Regions from separate parts of the Homo sapiens genome. Here region 1 is linked to region 2. Evidence: promoter capture Hi-C in human tissues and cell types (Jung and others, 2019). All regions are on one chromosome and are shown on one strand. The core of a region is centred on a gene start or on the middle of the fragment in contact, and the rest is flanking DNA. Distances in the headings are between cores, read along the strand shown.

The links. The method cuts DNA at HindIII sites, captures the fragments that hold promoters and counts their contacts. A contact is called where the count stands out against the background at its distance.
Region 1: a contact is called between a fragment that was not itself captured here and the fragment with the promoter of SLC6A4 in region 2, in 4 of the 25 tissues and cell types used here (IMR-90 fibroblasts, dorsolateral prefrontal cortex, mesenchymal stem cells and 1 more).

What each region holds. Positions count from the first base shown.
Region 1 is chr17:30,547,295-30,551,870 of GRCh38, reverse strand. No RefSeq gene overlaps it. Among named protein-coding and RNA genes, the nearest start is that of GOSR1, 72 kb to the right of the region's middle. RefSeq lists an enhancer at 323-853. The HindIII fragment of the contact is 6,952 bases long and covers 1-4,576 here.
Region 2 is chr17:30,234,447-30,238,876 of GRCh38, reverse strand. It overlaps SLC6A4 (solute carrier family 6 member 4), which reads left to right and starts at 3,180. Exons shown (of 15, transcript NM_001045.6): 1 at 3,180-3,264. It overlaps LOC105371720 (a long non-coding RNA gene), which reads right to left and starts at 1,379. Exons shown (of 3, transcript XR_007065698.1): 1 at 1,106-1,379; 2 at 77-557. RefSeq lists an enhancer at 1-548, cis regulatory regions at 1,544-1,586, 1,370-1,611, 2,000-2,039, 1,916-2,740, 1,612-3,101 and 2 more, a silencer at 2,764-2,946 and promoters at 2,447-3,201, 1,356-3,201, 1,382-3,206, 3,102-3,396, 1,612-3,396 and 1 more. The HindIII fragment of the contact is 6,948 bases long and covers 654-4,430 here.

The sequences.
Region 1 (4,576 bases), core at 1,518-4,017, 310 kb before region 2:
GGGTCAGCAGGGCCCAGAGTCAGTATCCACTGCCTGAGGCGTCAACATGCCTGCCTGCAGCGTATACACTCTGGGGTGAGGAAAGGAGCCCGGCCTCTCCAGCAGCTGCACAGGCCTGCAGTAGGATGGAGGTGAAGCTGGCCTTGTGGATCACTTGGGCCTCATGAGGGGAAAAGAAAGACCAGGGGGCAGAGGAGGAGCATGGGGGCAGCTGGTGGCCTAAGGAGAAGGCACTTCAGGGAAGGGGTCTGTGTTAGTTTGTTTTCACATTGCTATAAAGAAATACCTGAGACTGGATAATTTATAAAGGAAAGAGGCTTAACTGACTCGCAGTTCAGGAAACTTACAATCATGGCGGAAGGTGAAGGGGAAGCAGGCATCTTCTTCACAAGGTGGCAGGAGGGAGTAAGTGGAGAACAAGGAAGTGCCACACTTTAAAACCATCAGCTTTCCTGAGAATTCACTCACTATCAGGGGAGCAGCACGGGAGGAAACTGTCCCCAAATCCAATCCCCTCCCACCAGGTTCCTCCCTTGACACAGGAGGATTACAATTCCAGATGAGATTTGAGTGGGGACACAGAGCCAAACCTGTGAGGGTCTCAGTCTGTCTTGCAGCTCCCCTGGGGCTGAGGCTGAGTGCAAATCTGCTGGCCCTGCTCTACAGCACGCAGGGTCTCTGCCAGTGCACCCCATCTGCTGCTTCCTGGGAGTGGTGGCTACTTCCTCAAAAGGAGGGTGGATCTGCTCTCCTGTGCACTCCCCCTACCCCCGAGGGACTTGTGGAGCCCTGGCCACATCCTCCCAGGGTAAGGGCATGAAACTGGGCTCCTTGCCCTTCTTACTGCTTGGGTGACAAGCCTGGGGTCATCCCTAGGCCGCGTCACTGCCCCTGCTTCTAAATGGAGAGCATTTTGCCAAACCTTCCTGGGAGAGGCTGGGGGCTCATCCCTGTTGTCTGTTCCATCTTGGTAAAGCCAGGTTAAGACATCTGGGTAAGCAGACAGTAGAGTGGCACCCAGGAAGGGTGGGTGGAGGGCGCTGGCATTTAGGCTTGCCTGGACCATGGTGGGAGGGGGAAGGTTACCAGGAAGCAGTGCTGTCAGGGCTAAAGTCAGGAGGAGGTGGTTATGCTGGTGAGGCAGGGGTGTGGCTGGCTTGCGGTGGGGCATAAATGAGAGCCAAGGTTTGTCAGCATGCAGAAGAGGCAGCTGACTCATCCCTAGGGGCTGCGGAGGAGGTCGGGTCACTCTTGATCCCAGTTCCCAGTGAAAACTGGAGGTTGCCATCACCTAACCACACATGCAATAAAGTCTTCTGCCTGCTGCTTACAGCCCCCGAGAACCTTCTCCGAGAGAATAAAACCTTTGACTGCTGCTCTTCCTGAGTGGATTTTGTTTGTGTCTTCTGATGAACTGTGATGTCCCGTCTATCATTTTCCCAGGCTCAAGGATCCACCAAAAGTTGACGCCTCTTTTGGGGAGGCTCTGCAGTGCCTTCTTCTCACCAGGCTCCCCGGGAAGCTTGTGAACTTGGCTTGCACCCTAAGCAGCCAGGTACACGCAGGGGCTCTGCTTCTTGCTTTCACTAAGAGAGAGAGCCAAGAAAGAGACTGAAGCATGGTCTGCAGAGAAGACACTGGTGCAAACGCCAGGAGAACGAGGGGCCTGAGTCATCTTCATTCCCCTTAAAAACACGCATTCCCTCCCAGGCCACCTTAGGGCATGAAGCACAGTGAGAGTGTGTGTGTGTGTGTGAGTGTGTGTGTGTGCAGGTATATGCACGTGTATTTATGTGCATGTGTGCGTGTGTGTGCGTTCATGTGCATGCACGTATGCATGTGTACATGTCTGCTTGCATGTGTGCATGCGTGTGTGGTGCAGGGATATGAGGTGGACAGGATGTCGGAGGGCAGCTCCAGCTCCAAGCTGCACGTTTCTCTGTTAGAATGGTTTAGATTCCCTGGACCACAGCAAGAGAGTGTTTTCACGTGCATCCATTTTTCTTAGCATTGAAACCCATATTTTTAGCAGCATGTAAACCTTAATTTGCTTAACTATTCTTAGAAGCATTTATACCGGTGGTCCCCAACCTTTTTGGTCCCAGAGACCAGTTTCATGGAAGACTTTTCCACGGACCCGGGAGAAGGGGAAAGGATGATGCGGAGATGATTCAAGCCCATTACATTTATTGTGCACTTTATTTCTATTATTATTTCACTGTAATATATAATGAAATAATTATACCATTCACCATAATGTAGAATAAGTAGGAACACTGAGCTTGTTTTCCTGCAACTAGATGGTCCCATCTGGGGGTGATGGGAGACAGTGACAGATCATCAGGCATTAGATTTCATAAGGAGCACACAACCTAGATCCCTGGCATGCGCAGTTCACAGTAGGGTTCATGCTCCTATGAGAATCTAATGGCACCACTCATCTGACAGGAGACACAGCTCATGTGGTAATGCAAGGGATGGGGAGCGGCTGTTTCTACAGATGAAGCTTTGCTCACTGGCTGGCTGCTCACCTCCTGCTGTGCAGCCTGGTTCCAAACAGGAGGGAACCCGTGATTTATCCAGTAAGATAAATCCATTATGTAAGTTGACATTATTCACTCTGCACCACCCAAAATTATCTTGCATACCTACACACACCCAAGGGTCCGACAGCACACTTTGGGAGCTGTAGACAGTAAGCCTGGAGGTCCATTGCGAATTCCATCTCTTCACCCTGTAGGCTAATAGGCTATGTTAGTTTCCTAGGGCTGTTTTACAGTACCACAGACTGGGCACCTTCAACAACAGAATCTTACTGTCTCACAGTACTGGAGGCCATGAGTCCAAGATCAAAGTGTCAGCAGGGTGGGTTTCTTCTGAGGCTGTGCAGGAAGGTTCTGTTCCAGGCCTGTCTCCTGGCATGTCGGTGGCTCCCAGTCTCTAAAAAACAAACAAAAAAAAAAGAATATGGAAAGGAAAGGTCATTCTGATGAAGTCTCAGATGGAAATCAAGAAGAGGTAAATGGAAACTGGAGGAAAGGTGAGTGACGCTTGCCATAAAGTGGCAAAGCACTAGTGTTTGGTGGAAGGCAGAACTTGTGAGTGATGTAACTGAAATTTGGCAGAAGAAATATCTCAGCAAAGTATTGAAGGAGCGGCTTGATTGTCTTGAACGTTTATAGGAAAATGAAAGAAAAAGAGGAATGATTTAGAGACAGAACTTATAATCAAAAGGGAAGCAGAACTTAAAGATTTGGGAAACTTTTAGCCTTCTCAGCCTGCCCGTTTTGAACAGATAAGAAAGTGTGTTTGGGAGCGAACACGAGGGTGTGGGTCAGGAGGCCTGCGTGGATCAGGGCTGTGCTCCTCACCAGGACAATGGAAGAGCGACCCTGAAGGCATTGTGTGGATCACTCAGGCCGCACTCTCGTCACAGGCCCATGGTGCCAGGGCACTGACGGCAGTACGGTTTCCAAGAAAGGCCCTGGGGCGCCCTGAGGACCCCTGAGGACCTTGGGGCTTGCTGCCCAGCACTCCCTGAAGTCGCTGGTTCCCACACTGTGCTGTGGTGCTCCTTGGCTGCTCCAAGTGTTGCTCAATGGGCCCTGGTGGAGTGGGGGACATGCTATCACCCCTCCAGAGGACACAGGCAGAAAACTCTTTGGAGCATCCACGTGGTGCTCATTCTGCAGGTGTGCAGAGTGCAATAGCTGTGGGATATGGCTGCCTCCACCTGCATTTCAAAGTATGTCCCAGACAGCCTTGGGGTCAGGCAGAAAACTGCCACAGGGGCAGGGACACCACAGAACGTTCCCACTAGGGCAATGCCCAGCAGAGCCGTGGGGAAGAGGCTATCCCCAAGATTCCAGGATGGTAGAGCCAGCAGTGTGCAAGTCCACCCTGGGAGAGCCTCAGGCATCAAACTCCAACATGTGAGAGCTGCTGCCTGGGCTGCACCCAGCAAAGCCATGGGGGAAGAGCCACCTGAAGCCCTGGGCCGCCCAACCACATCCTAGTATATCTGGAACATGGGCCATGGAGTCAAAGAAGGTTCTCAAGTTTTAAGATTTAATGTTCTTTTCCCGGTTGGGTTTTGGACTCACTTGGGGCAACAACAACAACCAAAAACACCAAGCTGAAAGCAAAAAACACAAAATAAACACCTTAACCCTATCCCTCCATTTAATGTAATTCAGGACTCTAACCAAGAAGAATTTCTCAATTTCTCAGCAAAGCTACAGGGCTAATATTCAAACCCGCCTATAAGCAATGCTATTTCTTTTCCTTAGGTAATTATTTTCCCAGAACTCTATAAAACAACTAAAATATTTTTGACCAGAAATTAAACATATAAAAAAGACCATCTAGGCCTTTGCAGCATGCACCTCCAAACTCTTCCAGCCTCTACTCATTATCCACTTGCACATTTTTGCGTATTTTTTAGAGCAGCATTCCACTTCCTGGTATCAAAAATCAATACGAGTTTGCTAGGGCTACGGTAAGAATATACCACAGATGGAGGTCTTAAATAACAGAAATATTGTTTCTCACAGTTCGGGGTCCCAGAAGTCCAAGA
Region 2 (4,430 bases), core at 1,931-4,430:
CTGACGCCTGCATTCACATTCTAAGGAACCCGTCTGTCCCAACCACCACGACAACCCCCTTCCCCCCTACTCTTACCTGCAGCCCACGCAGGTCACAGCCATTAGATCCTTCCCCTGAAGCGCTGCTTCCCTCCTGCCGCACTCAGGGCTCCCTCCTGCCTTCCATGCCCAGGACAGGGCCTCCCGGCCTCTCCAGGTCTCTGGAGCAGAGAGGTTGTGCCTTCCTCATGCGGTCAGGCTCAGGCTGGGAAGGAGCGGCCCAGAGGCGGGGGGAGGCACGGGTGCGGGGCTGCCTCTTCCCCGGTAGTGGACGCTGAAGCCTGTCCACCTGAATTGGAGGCGGGGCGGGGCAGTCGACTGACCGCCAGGCAGGGGAGCAGGGCGCGGGCTCAGAGGGAGGGAGTGGGAGGCCGAGGAAGGACAAGGTGCTTGTGGCGATGAGTATCAGAAGGCAGAGCGGAGCTGCTCAAGAGAGGCTGGCTCTGTGGAGGTGAGGACCTGCAGGTGGGCCTGGCCTCTCTGTGGGATGGTACCCAGGGCAGGAGGAAGAGAAACACCTGTTTAGAGAGAGGGGGAGGGTCTGGGCCAGTTGTGTGCGGACTCTGCCATGGAGGCAGGGGGAACCAGGGCGGGGCCGTCTGTGTAATTCTAATGTCATTTGCTAATGGTGGTTGCCCGCAGCTGGGGAGCAAGAGGGGAGGAGATGGGACCACCCGGCCAGAGAGAGGAGGGGTCGAAGGCCCCCTTGGAGGAAGGGCCCAGCGCACAGGGCCTGCAAGGAGTTGGCCCCTTCCCCACCCACAGCTGGGCAGTGCCCACTGAGATCATCCTCCCTACTTCACAAACAGAGACACAAAGGCCAGACAGCTTGAGGTTAAGGAGCTCGGTCAAGCCCACACCACAGTACAGGGTGGGGGCCGGGATTTGACCCAGGTCCACAGGGTGCCCACTCTCTAGGCAGCACCTGCACAGAACAGGGCAGTGCCATAGGGAGGGGCTGCGCGCTGGGCAGGAATGCATCTTCGGCTAGAAAGAGTCTAGAAGGAAGATCAGAAGTGGCGAGACTGCACAATTAAGAAGTGCTAAGAAGTCACACTGGACAGACCTGGTCTTGGTAGCCAAGCGCTGAAGTCACCCCTGCAGCCGTCCTCCGCTTTGGCGCCTCTTCCCAGCGTCCCTGCCCCCCTCCTTTGGCCCTCCTGGAAAGGACACTTTGCGTTTTCTGTTGCCCTTGCCTATACAGCACAAACATGCTCATTTAAGAAGTGGAACGTGGGAGGCAGCAGACAACTGTGTTCATCTGAAAGGAGGAGGCCCCACTCCCGTGCAGGCGCTGCCCCTGGGGGTGAAATTCCCAAGCTTGTTGGGGATTCTCCCGCCTGGCGTTGCCGCTCTGAATGCCAGCACCTAACCCCTAATGTCCCTACTGCAGCCCTCCCAGCATCCCCCCTGCAACCTCCCAGCAACTCCCTGTACCCCTCCTAGGATCGCTCCTGCATCCCCCATTATCCCCCCCTTCACCCCTCGCGGCATCCCCCCTGCACCCCCAGCATCCCCCCTGCAGCCCCCCCAGCATCTCCCCTGCACCCCCAGCATCCCCCCTGCAGCCCTTCCAGCATCCCCCTGCACCTCTCCCAGGATCTCCCCTGCAACCCCCATTATCCCCCCTGCACCCCTCGCAGTATCCCCCCTGCACCCCCCAGCATCCCCCCATGCACCCCCGGCATCCCCCCTGCACCCCTCCAGCATTCTCCTTGCACCCTACCAGTATTCCCCCGCATCCCGGCCTCCAAGCCTCCCGCCCACCTTGCGGTCCCCGCCCTGGCGTCTAGGTGGCACCAGAATCCCGCGCGGACTCCACCCGCTGGGAGCTGCCCTCGCTTGCCCGTGGTTGTCCAGCTCAGTCCCTCTAGACGCTCAGCCCAACCGGCCGCACAGTTTTCAGGGGTCAGTTCCTCCAAGTACAAGGGGCGGTGGCTTCTCTGGAGCTGCAAACTTGTCACTGCTATTTCCTTTCGGTCTTCTACTTCCTATCGTTCCTGGCCTCCTCTTGGGGAGAGGTAGAGCCCTCTCCTTTCCGCCTCAGGGACAACCCAAAGCAAGTACTGCATGTGCCCTTTTTAAAGTTTTAAATAATTTTAGCAAAAAGGATATTAACATTAAATCAATTTTTAAACTTTTTGAAAAAATTATCAAAACTACATGCACATGGTTCAAAACAATAGGCTCCTGCTGGGCCCTTTCAGATAATTCAAATTGTCACCAGGTTGGAGTGCAGTGGTTCGATCACGGCTCACTGCAGCCTCGACCTCCCGGGCTCAGCTGATCCTCCACCTCAGCCTCCTGAGTAGCTGGGAACACAAGCGCGAGCAACCACGCCCGGCTAATTAAAAAAATTTTTTTTCTAGAGATGGGGTCTTGCTGTGTTGCCCAGGCTGGTCTTGAATTCCTGGGCTCAAGCAATCCTCCCGCCTCAGCCTCCCAAAGCACTGTGCTCCTTTTTGACGCAGCTTTGAACTGTAGCTGGTTAACAAAATGAGAACCAGTTCTTCATTCCTTCATTGTGGAAGTCTTTATTGTGAGACTCTGGGGACGGAGAGGAATTAGACAAGGGCCTCTAAGCTGAGCTCACATCCCAGCCGGTCAGTCAGATAAACGCATGGGTATCGAGTACTGCTAGGTCCCAGGAAGAAAGAGAGAGCAGCTTTCGGGATGGGGACGATGGGGAGGTGTCCGAGGTCAAGAGAAAGCGGCACGAGCAGACCCCTGTGTGCCGTCCTGTGGGCGCGGGGCGGCAGGGGAGGCGCACACCTGCTCCTTTGTGCAGCCTCCCCCCTCCCGCAAAGTTAAAGAGCAGGAAAGTCAGGATTCCTCGCTCGGCCCTGCCCTGCCGGCTGCTCCGCGCTCCGCTCCTCCCTGCGAGCGTGTGTGTGTGTCGGGGGTCCCTCCCCTCCTGGCTCTGGGGTCGGGCGCGCACCCCGCCCCGTAGCGCGGCCCCTCCCTGGCGAGCGCAACCCCATCCAGCGGGAGCGCGGAGCCGCGGCCGCGGGGAAGCATTAAGTTTATTCGCCTCAAAGTGACGCAAAAATTCTTCAAGAGCTCTTTGGCGGCGGCTATCTAGAGATCAGACCATGTGAGGGCCCGCGGGTACAAATACGGCCGCGCCGGCGCCCCTCCGCACAGCCAGCGCCGCCGGGTGCCTCGAGGGCGCGAGGCCAGCCCGCCTGCCCAGCCCGGGACCAGCCTCCCCGCGCAGCCTGGCAGGTGGGTCCGCTTTTCCTCTCCGCCTCGAACCCACGTTTCTTTCCAGACCTTCTTCCCCGCCTCGGGGAGGGGGATAGAACCGCTGCGCCCCACCGCCCTGCGAGGAGGCGAGGAGGTGCATGCGCCCCAGCGGTGGGCGCCGGATCCTGCCCCTGCGCCCTCCACGCTCAGCAAGAGCCAGAGCTGAAGCTGACCGGCCAGAGTGGGAGACGAGGAACGTGGAGTGCTCGAAGTGGGCGGGCGTAGGGGGCTCCTTTGTCTATTGTTGCAGGGGCTTTGCAACCTCTTGAGGACCCGTGAAAGACCCCTTAAAGAGGGTCTTGAGCAAAGTGCTGTCCTGCGCTTTGGGAAGAGTTGCTTGCTTTCGTTTCAACCCATGGTTTATGTTTGATCTTTACTTTGCTGTCATCGCGTGCAGGTGGCTTTATGCAAAGGGAGAGTTCTGGTTGACACAAATGCCCAGACAGCTAGAGAAATCTCTGAGTGGCGCCTAAGTGGGCCGAGTCTCCGTGCGCTTGGGTGGTTTCACTGTCAGAGCTGAGGCGCTCTCAGACACCTCACAGGCCATTCAGAATGTATGTGAAACTCCAACTCCAACGACTGTGCTACGTGGTTGAAGGATATAACCATCATTTGCTTGAAAATTGTGTACATTCAAACTTGTTCTTGAAAAAAAGCTCTCTGGAGCTCAAGAGTGGATTTGGGTCTTGGGCTAAGGAGCAGATTTTCTTCTGAACTGGGGCTTTTGCATATTGAATTGTTCCTTTTCCATTTGGGACTCTGAAGAATTTGAGAGGGGTAGAATTTCTGAATCAGACATTACAAAGACTTTGTGTATGTATTTTTACCATCAGTTTTGTCCAGAAAAGTGAACCTGGTCAATGGATTATTTATGAGCCTGCTAGCTAACTCTCATCATAGGAAGACGAGAGCAAATATTTAATGTGTTTTGCCTTCAGTTACATAGGAAAAATGTCTAAGAAGGTGACATTGGGACTTGTGTTTAATGAAACAGAGAACTGTGGGCAGCGTCAGTGTTGGGTTTTTAGGAGCGTAGGGAGCACACAGCTTTGACTCTTTGTCCCATTACTTGCTTCTGTGTGAAGCCACTGAGGCCCCAGGGTTCGGGTTTTCCTGCCACGCACTCTGGGGTGGCAGTGACCGTT